2 separate regions of the Homo sapiens genome follow, and region 1 is linked to region 2. Evidence: promoter capture Hi-C in 16 types of primary human blood cells and fetal thymus (Javierre and others, 2016). All regions are on one chromosome and are shown on one strand. Each heading gives the region's core, a stretch centred on a gene start or on the middle of the fragment in contact. The rest is flanking DNA. Distances are from core to core; before and after follow the strand shown.

What was found. Contacts are between HindIII fragments. The CHiCAGO score rates a contact against its expected background, and 5 or more counts as called.
Region 1: a contact is called between a fragment that was not itself captured here and the fragment with the promoter of EFCC1 in region 2, in 1 of 17 cell types (naive CD4 T cells). The highest score is 5.5, in naive CD4 T cells.

What each region holds. Positions count from the first base shown.
Region 1 is chr3:129,113,796-129,118,748 of GRCh38, reverse strand. All of the region lies in intron 1 of RAB43 (RAB43, member RAS oncogene family), which reads left to right. The region is part of intron 11 of ISY1-RAB43 (ISY1-RAB43 readthrough); the gene reads left to right. Among named protein-coding and RNA genes, the nearest start is that of RAB43, 5.5 kb to the left of the region's middle. The HindIII fragment of the contact is 1,673 bases long and covers 2,116-3,788 here.
Region 2 is chr3:128,997,582-129,002,661 of GRCh38, reverse strand. It overlaps EFCC1 (EF-hand and coiled-coil domain containing 1), which reads right to left and starts at 1,358. Exons shown (of 8, transcript NM_001377500.1): 1 at 338-1,358. The coding sequence starts at 1,033. It also overlaps a transcript of CFAP92 not described here. The HindIII fragment of the contact is 12,645 bases long and covers 1-3,275 here.

The sequences.
Region 1 (4,953 bases), core at 1,703-4,202, 110 kb before region 2:
TCGAGATGAGCCTGGCCAGCATAGTGAGACGTGGTATCTATTTAGAATAAAATAAAATAAACCTTCTCAGGGCCTGTCTTGGGAAGCCCGAGATGCTTGTCCAGCAAGCATCCAGTCTTATATCCTAAAGCTTTCCCTGTGATTCTTTACAATGATGCTGGGTTTTATTAGAGCTTCAGGAAGCTTAGAGATGGATCACCTGGTGGTTTTCTAGCTCCTGTGAGCTTGGAGGTACTGAAAGGTAAGGAGAAAAGCCAAGAGGTCAGAGAGAGGGTCAGAAGGGCTTTAACTAGCTTCCCAACCAGTCAGAGCAATACCTTTATCTAGTTGTAGGTTGAAATTCTTGTTATTTGACTAAAGAATTCTCCTGCTAAAAAAACCGAAACATTTGAGAATCACAGATTTAATCAAATTACTTTATTTCTGTAGCCACTTCCCATTACAACCAGAATAACCTCCAAACACCTTCCCCAAAGAGATGGACCTCTGGAAGGAGACAAAGTTGGAGAGGCAGACAGAGGCCCATCTCTACCCTTCACTGCCTGCTCTCCAGCTTCACTAGCCCTTCAACATGGTGGGCTTACCCCTGCCTCAGGACCTTTGCATCTCTTCCCGTGCCCATCATACTCTGCCTCTAGATCCCCACGTAACTGCTACTTCATCATTCAGGTCCCAACGCAAATGCCACATCTTCAGAGAGGCCTTGCCTGATCTCCCAGGTCCTCTATTCTGTAACTCTATTGTATCTGGTCATAACACTTACCACAGCTTCAAATTAACTGTTTTTTTCTGTCTGCCCCTATAGAAGGTAAGCTCCTTGAAGACACAGGGATCCAGTGGGCCAGTGTCAAACACATGGTGTCCAATATGTGCCTGTTAATTGGTTCCTTTATAGAGAGAAAGCTGAGGCCAAGGTCACTTACAACTCTGTGGCAAAACCAAGGGTTTGGCTGGCTCCTAAGCCCAGTCTTCATTTTTACTTGACCACCCTTCTGATTTGCTCTGAGTTCATAAAGATGACCGTGAGATTCTGAAAGTGAATGGATCTAATAAAAATGCAGTTGTGGCCATTGCATTCACTGAGAGAAGAATGTGGAATGGGGCATTTTAGAAAGATTGGGGTTGACAGTTAAAGAGTTTTAGGGTGTTTGGTTTATTATTAACCAAAACGTGTAGATATACCCAAACGGCTCAGAGACACTGCTGTACGAGTCAGTAAGGCTTTGTATATGGTGATCATTTCCAGTGTTCTTGTGGATGCATTTGACTGTAGCTATGAGAACTGGACTTATAAAGTGAATCTGAGTGCTGCTTATCTTGCATACTGTGGAGTCTCTGACAGAGAGCACTGGACTAGGAGTCTGAAGTTCTGAGTCTTGCTTCAACCCTGCCACAGACTTGGGCAATTCATTTTTTTTCTCCTTGGAGCCTCAGGCTTCCTCATCTGTGAAATGGGACTAATGGTCTTTGCTCTGCCTCTTTCTTAGGGTTGTCAGAAAACTTTGAACATGCTTAAAATAAAGTTTCCATGACTTACTTTTGAATAGATAAACCATTCACATGGTTCAAATTTCAAAATTTTAAAAACTTCAAAGGGTATATATAGTGAAAAGTCTCCCTTCCGTGTTTGTCCCGTAAGCCACCCAGTGTCCTCTAAGAAGAAGCCATCAGTGTTACTCATTTCTTATTTAAAAACAAGGATTTATAAATATATATTTTTTTATTGCTGCAGTTACTGTTTTCCTCCCTAGATGAGACAGATTAGGTCTGAATTTGCCCCTCCCCCACCCCTCCCTCCTCCCCACCTCAGTGTCCTCAGGAAATCTCAGCTGGCTCTAAATCCTTAAAACATTCTGAAGCTCCTCTACTCACTCTTATCTGGGACAACACAAAGGCCTGTTATGTAAACTCGTTTTTGCAGATCACTAGGCACACCGGCCTCAAGTCCAGCGCAGAGGTCAGCCTTATGGAACTGTACCCCTCTATTCAGCTCTCTCTCAGGCTCACTGTCTGCTCGCTAGGGATGCTGCCAGATCTCTCCTTCATAGAGGTAAAGTCTGTGCCCTTGGGCCTGGACCTCCAGATTTCAGGACCTTTGGCCTTGACTCTCAAGCTTCCCCTTGCCCTAGGAGTCAAATTTGTTTTTGTAGCTGCTCCTGGCACTTCAAAAAGAGGGGGCAGGGCGGGATAAGAGGAAATGGTTTCTGGTTAAAGTTTGCATTCACAGTCCTTCCAATCAAGAGTCTAGTTCTGCTCATCTGTTCTTTTCCTATTTGGATAAAGTTTGTTTGACTTTTTCAGTTTTCATTAGAAATAGCAAAAGGACTGTTAGATAAGAAAGAAGTTCTAGGTCGTGCTGATTTTCTGAAGAAATCTGTTCTTGATACCAGGGACAGCCATCCTAATTGCAAAATAAACCTTGCCTCTCGAGGTTTCTTAGAATCCTGAGACAGCATGTCTGGTGGAGAGATAGTGGAAAGAGGGCCAGCTTTAGAACTGCACAGCACCAGGTTAAATCTTATCCTCAATGGATATGTTCTAAGACCCCCAGTGGATGCCTGAAACTTCAGATGGTACTGAACGCTATATAGACTATGTTTTGTCTTATACATACATGCCCATGATAAAGTTTAATTTATGAATTAGGCACAGTACGAAATTAACAACAATAATTAATAACAAAATAGAACAGTTATAACAATATGCCAGCATCGCTATTCCTGCGCTTTGGGGCCATTATTAAGTAAAATAAGGATTCTTTGAACACAAGCACTGTGATACAGTACATGCTGGACAAAGGTATGATTCACATCCCAGGTGGGACGGAGCAGGATGGCGTGAGATTTCATCATGCTACTCAGAATGATGTGCAATCGACTTATGCATTATTTCTAGAATCTACCATTTAATATTTTTATTTGTTTTTTTGAGACAGAATCTCACTCTGTCGTCCAGGAGGGAGTGGAGTGGTGTGATCTCGGCTCACTGGAACCTCCACCTCCCAGGTTCAAGCGATTCTCCTGCCTCAGCCTCCCAAGTAGCTGGGATTACAGGTGCCCACTACCACACCCAGCTAATTTTTGTATTTTTTGGTAGAGATGGGGTTTCACCATGTTGGCCAGGCTGGTCTCAAACTCCTGACCTCAAGTGATCCACCCACCTGGGTCTCCCAAAGTGCTGTGATTACAGGTGTGAGCCACCGCGCCTGGCCTACTTAATATTTTTATTTTTTATTTTATTTTTTGAGACGGGGTTTCGCTCTTGTTGCCCAGGCTGGAGTGCAATGGCATGACCTCTGCTCACTGCAACCTCCGCCTCCTGGGCTCAAGTGATTCTCCTGCCTCAGCCTCCTTAGTAGCTGGGATTACAGGCATGCACCGCTGTGCCTGGCTGATTTTGTTTTTTGTTTTTTGTTTTTTTTTTAGTAGAGACAACGTTTCACCATGTTGGCCAGGCTGGTTTCGAACTCCCGACCTCAGGTGATCTACCCACCTCGGCCTCCCAAAGTGCTGGAATTACAGGCATGAGCCACCACGCCTGGCCCTACTTAATACATTTAGAGCAAAGTTGATGGCAGGTAGCTGAAACCTTGGAAAGTGAAACCATGGATAAGTGGGGGATACTGTACCATAGGCATGTGACTTTACCTCTTCAAATCTGTCTTACCTGCAAAACCCCTACCCTTAAGGACCTGGCCCATAGTGGATCATCCACAGATGGGAACTGATGTTGGTGTGTAACCACCTGATGAGAGAGAGTGGATTGCGGGGGGTGGGGGTCAGGAAGCTTGGTTTCTCAGCCTAGTTGCCCAGCTGACCGTAAACAAGTCACTTCATTGACCTGTTGTCCTATCAGTAAAGTGAAGACAATAAAGGCAAGAGACTGGCCCCTGTGGCTATGCTCGTACTAGAAATAGAGCTATACAGTGACCCCAAACTGATCAGGGATTGTGGGAAGTAGAGGCACACAAGGCCTTTACCACCTTTTGTCTCCATGCTGTGACTCAGGATATCCACATGTCTGCTTTCCTTGCTTTCCTCTTGTTCGTTGTTTAGCCCTTGTAGGTTTCTTTACCTTGCACTGGCCTTTGTGTAGTGCTCGGGCTGTGATTGGCCTTTGCTGAGACCTCATGCTAGGCGGTTTTCCTGGGTGCTTTGGGTATGAGGAATTCTCAGAGTTCAGTAATAAGAGGAGCAACTCTCCCTCAAATGTGCATGCGTTTTATAAGTTTCCATCGCTTTTCTCATGAGTTGTTGCATTTGATCCTCATAGCCACCCTGTGGGAGACTATCCCCATCTTACAGAAGAGGAAATGAAGGCCCATTTGTGGCAAAGTCTGAACCAGAGCCAAGCTTTTCAGCTCCTAGTCTGGTACTTTTCTCCTCATTGCTGTCTTGTGCCCTCTCCTACTACCGCAAACACACACAAACCCACAAATGAAAAAAGTTGGGACTGATTTAAAATCTAGGCCATCTTGTATTGCTTGCATTTTACACATTGATTAGCAGTGTCATGTCAACATTTTAATGCCCAGTACTTATTAAATAAATGTTTATTAATTCAGATGAACTGGGGGTAGTGTTCGGAATGGCCAGTGTGAATGACAGAAAAATCCCACTTTCTAGACTGGCCTGTGAAATGCTGTTTTATTGTTGATGTGGCAGCAGAAGCTAACCAAATGCTGTTACATACCAGATCTTTCTTTTTTTTTTCTTTCGAGACGGAGTCTCGCTCTGTCACCAGGTGGAGTGCAGTGGCGCGAGGCGTGATCCCGGCTCACTGCAACCTCCACCTCCCTGGTTCAAGCAGTTCTCCTGCCTCAGCCTCCCAAGTAGCTGGGACTACAGGCACACACCACCACGCCTAGCTAATTTTTGTATTTTTAGTAGAGACGGGGTGTCACCATGTTAGCCAGGATGGTCTCGATCCCTTGACCTCGTGATCTGCCTGCCT
Region 2 (5,080 bases), core at 109-2,608:
AGGGAATATGTGAGACTACCCAGACAGGTGCAATTCCTAGGTTAAAGGGGCAAGACGCGATGATGTGGCGGTGGAGCAGAAAAGTGGGGTATGGTTGTTTGAGTGTGATTGGGGTTTTCAGGAATGGAATAGGTGGTAAGAATAGGGTTGGGGACTGGAGTGGAATGGGGAGGAACAGGGGCAAGATGCAAGTGTGCTGATGCGGAGTGGGATGGTGTGGGGCTGCCCTCTGTCTCCCCTTCCTCTGACTCTGTCCTGTCGGGCTCCGCAGCCAGCCAGCTTTTAGTTCGAGCCCTCTCCCGGGCGTTACCACCCTCCCTTCGTGGCCGGCGCGCACCTGCAGTGCTAGGCAGCGCGCATCACTGCTCTGCAGCGCGGCGCGCAGGTCCTCCACCAACTCGCGCAAGCTGCTATTCTCCTCCTCCAGCCGCGCAACGCGCTCACAGTCAGGACCGCTGTCGGGGCCAGGCGCGCAGGGCGGGCGGCGGCGGCGGCGCGGACGGCGCAGGCGGATCTGCGTCTCGATGTGCTCGCTGAGAGCGCCGCGGGGCAGCCGGGGCCCCGCACGGGTGCCGAAGTAGCCACAGAGGCGCGCGTGGAACTGGCGGAAGGTGAGCTCCGGCGGCTCGGCGCGCAGCGCCAGGCGCGCCTCTTCATCGGTATCTGAGTCCCCGTCCGTGGCCAACTCAGCGGCCGCATCCCCGGGGGTCACATCTCTGGAGTTCCCGTCACCTGCTGCCTGCCCGGCCGTGGTGGCCCCCTCCGCGCGCAGCCCCAGCACAGCGCAGAGCGCTCGGAAGTCGGCGCGGGGCAGACGGCCGGCGCCGCGGCAGTCCAGGTGGTGGAAGACCTCCTGCAGGTACTGGTCCAGGCCGGTGGCCAGCACCACGATCTCGTTCTCCACGCCGCGGTCCAGCCCGTAGTGGTGCGCCAGGGCGCTCAGCAGCCACTGCGTGCGCCGCGCAGGTCGCCGGTACGGGTCACCTCCCGCGCCCTCCATGCCGGCCTCCGCGCCCGTGCTGACCGGCTCCATCGCTGCGCCGCGCGCCTCGCTCCTCCGGTCCCTCCTCCGGTCCCTTCGCCCCGCCACTTCCAGGGGCGGCCCCAGAGTTTCTCGAAAGGAGGGGCTTAGCGGTCGCGGTCTGGTTGGAGCGGCGCCGGGGACCGTGTCCAGCAGCTGCGCTGGCCTCACAGTGCGTCTGGTTTACCCCAGTTGCTTTGGAGGGGCCTGGGGTAGGGGGTCCAGGAACCCCCGGGACCCCGGCAGCGCCACCAGTGCCCGGTCGGCGTCTGGGTCTGGCTTCTCCGCGTGACTCCCACGCTCTCCTCTCCTCACTCACGGGGCGTTCCTGGCGTCTGCGCTTTTCCTCCCACTCCCGGCCGTCCACTCTCAACTCCCTCCTCCCTCCGCCCCGCCCGCCTGGCGCGGAGAGTTCGCTCCGAGACCTGGGCGAGGGGTTGGCGCGGGATCCGAAGCCCAGGAGGGCCTTGGGGGTGGCGGCCTCGTCCGGTTGCTGGGGATGTGCCCCCACACCCAAGCGTCACTCTTCCCCCTCTTCCCGGAAGGCCTTTCGAGGGTTGCCTGGCAAGCCTGCTCTCGCCGCCCTGTAGCCGTAGGTGCGGAAAAGCCTCCCCTCCGCTTCAATTCAGCTACTGGGTTTCCGAACCCACTTCTTGTGCCACCATAGACCGTGCAAAGAGCCCCAAGTAGTAACTGGGAAAGAGAGGGAAACAGGCTTGGAGAGGCAAGGGGTCTAGGTTAGGGGCACCCCGCTGGTGAGAAGCCCATCTGAGACGAGCCCTGTGCTAACTGCTCTCTCCCGATCCCTGTTGGGGGTGGGGATAGGACTCTCGGGAAAGTGGTGTCTCCCGGCCCTGCCACCTTTGTGCCTGCCGGTGCTGACTTGGCAATGGGATCCGAGTTCCATCTCTTGAGCTGGGGTTAGGTTAACAGGTCGATGATTGGCTGATGTTTTTTTCTGGTGTTTTAGAACACATTTCTGGAAGATGAAGAAAAACCTGCTTCTCTGGTGAGTGCTAGACTGTGTTCCCTTTCTTTTTCACGAGAGGGGTGCAGTGATATTGTGATATTGTCCACCTGTTACCTGCACCGGGAACGGTTATCCAGCCACGGTACCCAGCCATGTTGGAGCAAGAGGCAGACTCTTCAGCTGTTCCTAGCTATGACAGAGACAGAATCTTGCCTTGTGGATAACTCTGTGAGTTTAAATGTAAAATCTTGCCGTTTGAAAAGCGATAGCATTCTGTCTCCTCTGCCACAGTATCCCAGAATCAGCACGTTGTCCATTTGGCAAATTCGTACTTGTTCTTGAAGGCTTTGCCCAGAGTACATATCTGCTGGGAAGGAGTTAGAGGCTTCTCCCCAAGCATTTTGGACATATTCTTTTAGGTTTGTTTTTAATTATAAAAGTAATGGCAATTTGACAAAGTTTTTACATCACGTCCACTTCTTGGCTTCTACCTTCGAAAGCCACTGTGCACAGGATGTTCACTGCATCATTGTTTATTACAGTGAGAAACTGGAGACAACCTGGTGTCCATCAAATCAGCTAGGACTCAGCAAACGAGGATGAGCGGACACAGCAAGCCACAAGCTGATTATGCACAACACTGATGCTTACATAACAAGAACAAAAACACACAAAACAATACTAAGTATTTTCTACTAGGACATGTGTATGTGAGTGCACAGAAGAAGATGGAGGGATTCATAAGTGGATTCAGTGGTTCTTTCTGCAGATGGGAGACACTGCAGTATTTCCCTTTTGTTAAGATGTTCTCATGTGTTTCTTTTTCTTGGCCGGTCGCGGTGGCTCACGCCTGTAATCCCACCACTTTGGGAGGCCGAGGCGGGTGGATTGCCTGAGGTCAAGAGTTCGAGAACAGCCTGGACAACATAGTGAACCACCCCCATCTCTACTAAAAATACCAAAAGTTAGCTGGGCGTGGTGGCAGGCGCCTGTAATCCCAGTTACTTGGGAGGCTGAGGCAGATGAATCGCTTGAACCTGGGAGGCGGAGGTTGCAGTAAGCTGAGATCCTGCCATTGCACTCCAGCCTGGGCGACAGAGCGAGACTCCGTCTCAAAAAAAAAAAAAAAAAAAAAAAAAGAACCTGATTTTATTTCATGTCAGCCCTAAGAGCTGGTAGCCCAGGCAAGAGTGCAACACCCTCCCCACCCCCCATCCCTGCAGCTGGTGAAGGAATCCTTTGAACAGTAGCTTTCCTGGGCCAGTCAATATTGAAAAGAAAGCTTTTAAATGTCTTGCTGGGAGCCGTTGCCGGCCTCCACTCCCCTACAGCTCAGGGAAGTAAGGGTTGATAATGGTTTGCTGTCAGGCCTGTCTGTCTGCCCTGCGGTGTTACCAGGCACCTCTGAAATAATTCTGGTTGCATCCACAAGGTTTTTGTTTAAGGTTCAAAGTGAGCAAACTCAGAGGTCTCCTTGCGTTCTTTTGTATGAGCTGGGGGGATGGGCGTGTGTCTGTGTGGGAGAGAGTCAGGGCTGTGGCAAAGAAATGATTTTCTGAAGTCAGTTCAGTATTGTTTGAGCCATTTCAAATAGTATATTGTTTAAAGTGTCTTTTAAAGGTCCGGGAAAATGCTAAAAAGCAAAAATCATCCACCATTCTGCCACCAAGAGAGGATCACTGTGTATTTCTGATGTATTTATTTCCAGACTTTTCTATGTATTTGGGCATGAAAGAACTTTTTGGAGTGATTGAAATACTCTATCTTCATGGTGTAGTGGTTGCATGACTGTGTACATCTGAATTTTACAGTGTGCAAATCGTAGCTCATTCAACTTGACATGAAAAGCACAGTGGAAAGGGCGCCATTGGGATCTTTCTTTGCACAGGAACTGAGCTTTGTAAACAGCTTGGCTGTGGTTTCTTTGCAGACACTGCTCCAGAGGCTGCTCTGTGCTCCCTGGGGATGAACTATAAGGTGCTTTGTCATCCCCCACAGATGCCCACTGAGGTGGTTTTCAGCTTTTCTCCGCAAAAACCATACTGTGAACAGTTTGTGCCATATCTTGAGTGATTTATTACTGGGCCAAGGAGTATACATATTTTATAAGCTTGTGGTATTATCAGCCTGTTTTTTGGAAACTTGTGTTGTTCTATCCAGAGCCCAGAACTGTCTGGGAATGTCCTTGGGCCATTATTTTCAGTGTCATAAAGCTTTTGGGTTTTTAGGGGTCTTGGTTAGTAGATTTGCTTAGTGTTCAGACACCAAGCTTTACTTCTATTAAAAATAGGCCTGTTGTTAGTCAAAGATTTCTTAGATACGACACCAAATGCATGATCCAAAAAAGAAAAAAATGATGAATCGGACCTTCATCAAAGTTCAAAACATTTGCACTTCAAAAGACACTATTAAGAAAATATGACGAACAAGAGACTAGGAGAAAATATTTGTAAAACATATGCCCAGTAAAGGACTTATATTCCGAATTTACAATGAACTCTTAACAACTCAGTAACAAGAAGACAAACAATCCAATCAAAAAGTGGGTGAAGATACAAACAGACATTTCACCAAAGAAGTTGTATAAATAGCCAACATGTGCATAAAACAATCTCAGTATTCTTGTTAGGGAAATGCACATGAAAACTATGATGAAATACTATATTATACTCATGAGAATAGCTGTAGTGAATAAAACAGGCAATAAATCTTGTCAAGAATTTGGAGAAACAGGAAACTTCATGTTGTTGATGGGAACACAAAATGATGCAGCCCCTGTGGAAGATAGTTTGGCAGTTTCTCAAGAAGTTAATCACAAAATGACCATACGACCCAACTCTTCCACTCCTAGATATCGACCCAAGAGAGATGAAAACACATCCACACAAAGACTTGTGTGGGAATGTTCATAGCAACGTTGTTCATAAATGTCTAAATGCCCAAGCCAAATGCCCATTAACTGATGAATGGATAGGCAAACTGTGGTCTGTCCATACAATAGAATATTATTCAGTCATGAAAAGGAATGAAATACTGACACATGCCTCAACATAAATAAACCTTGGAAACATAACGGTAGGTGAAAGAAA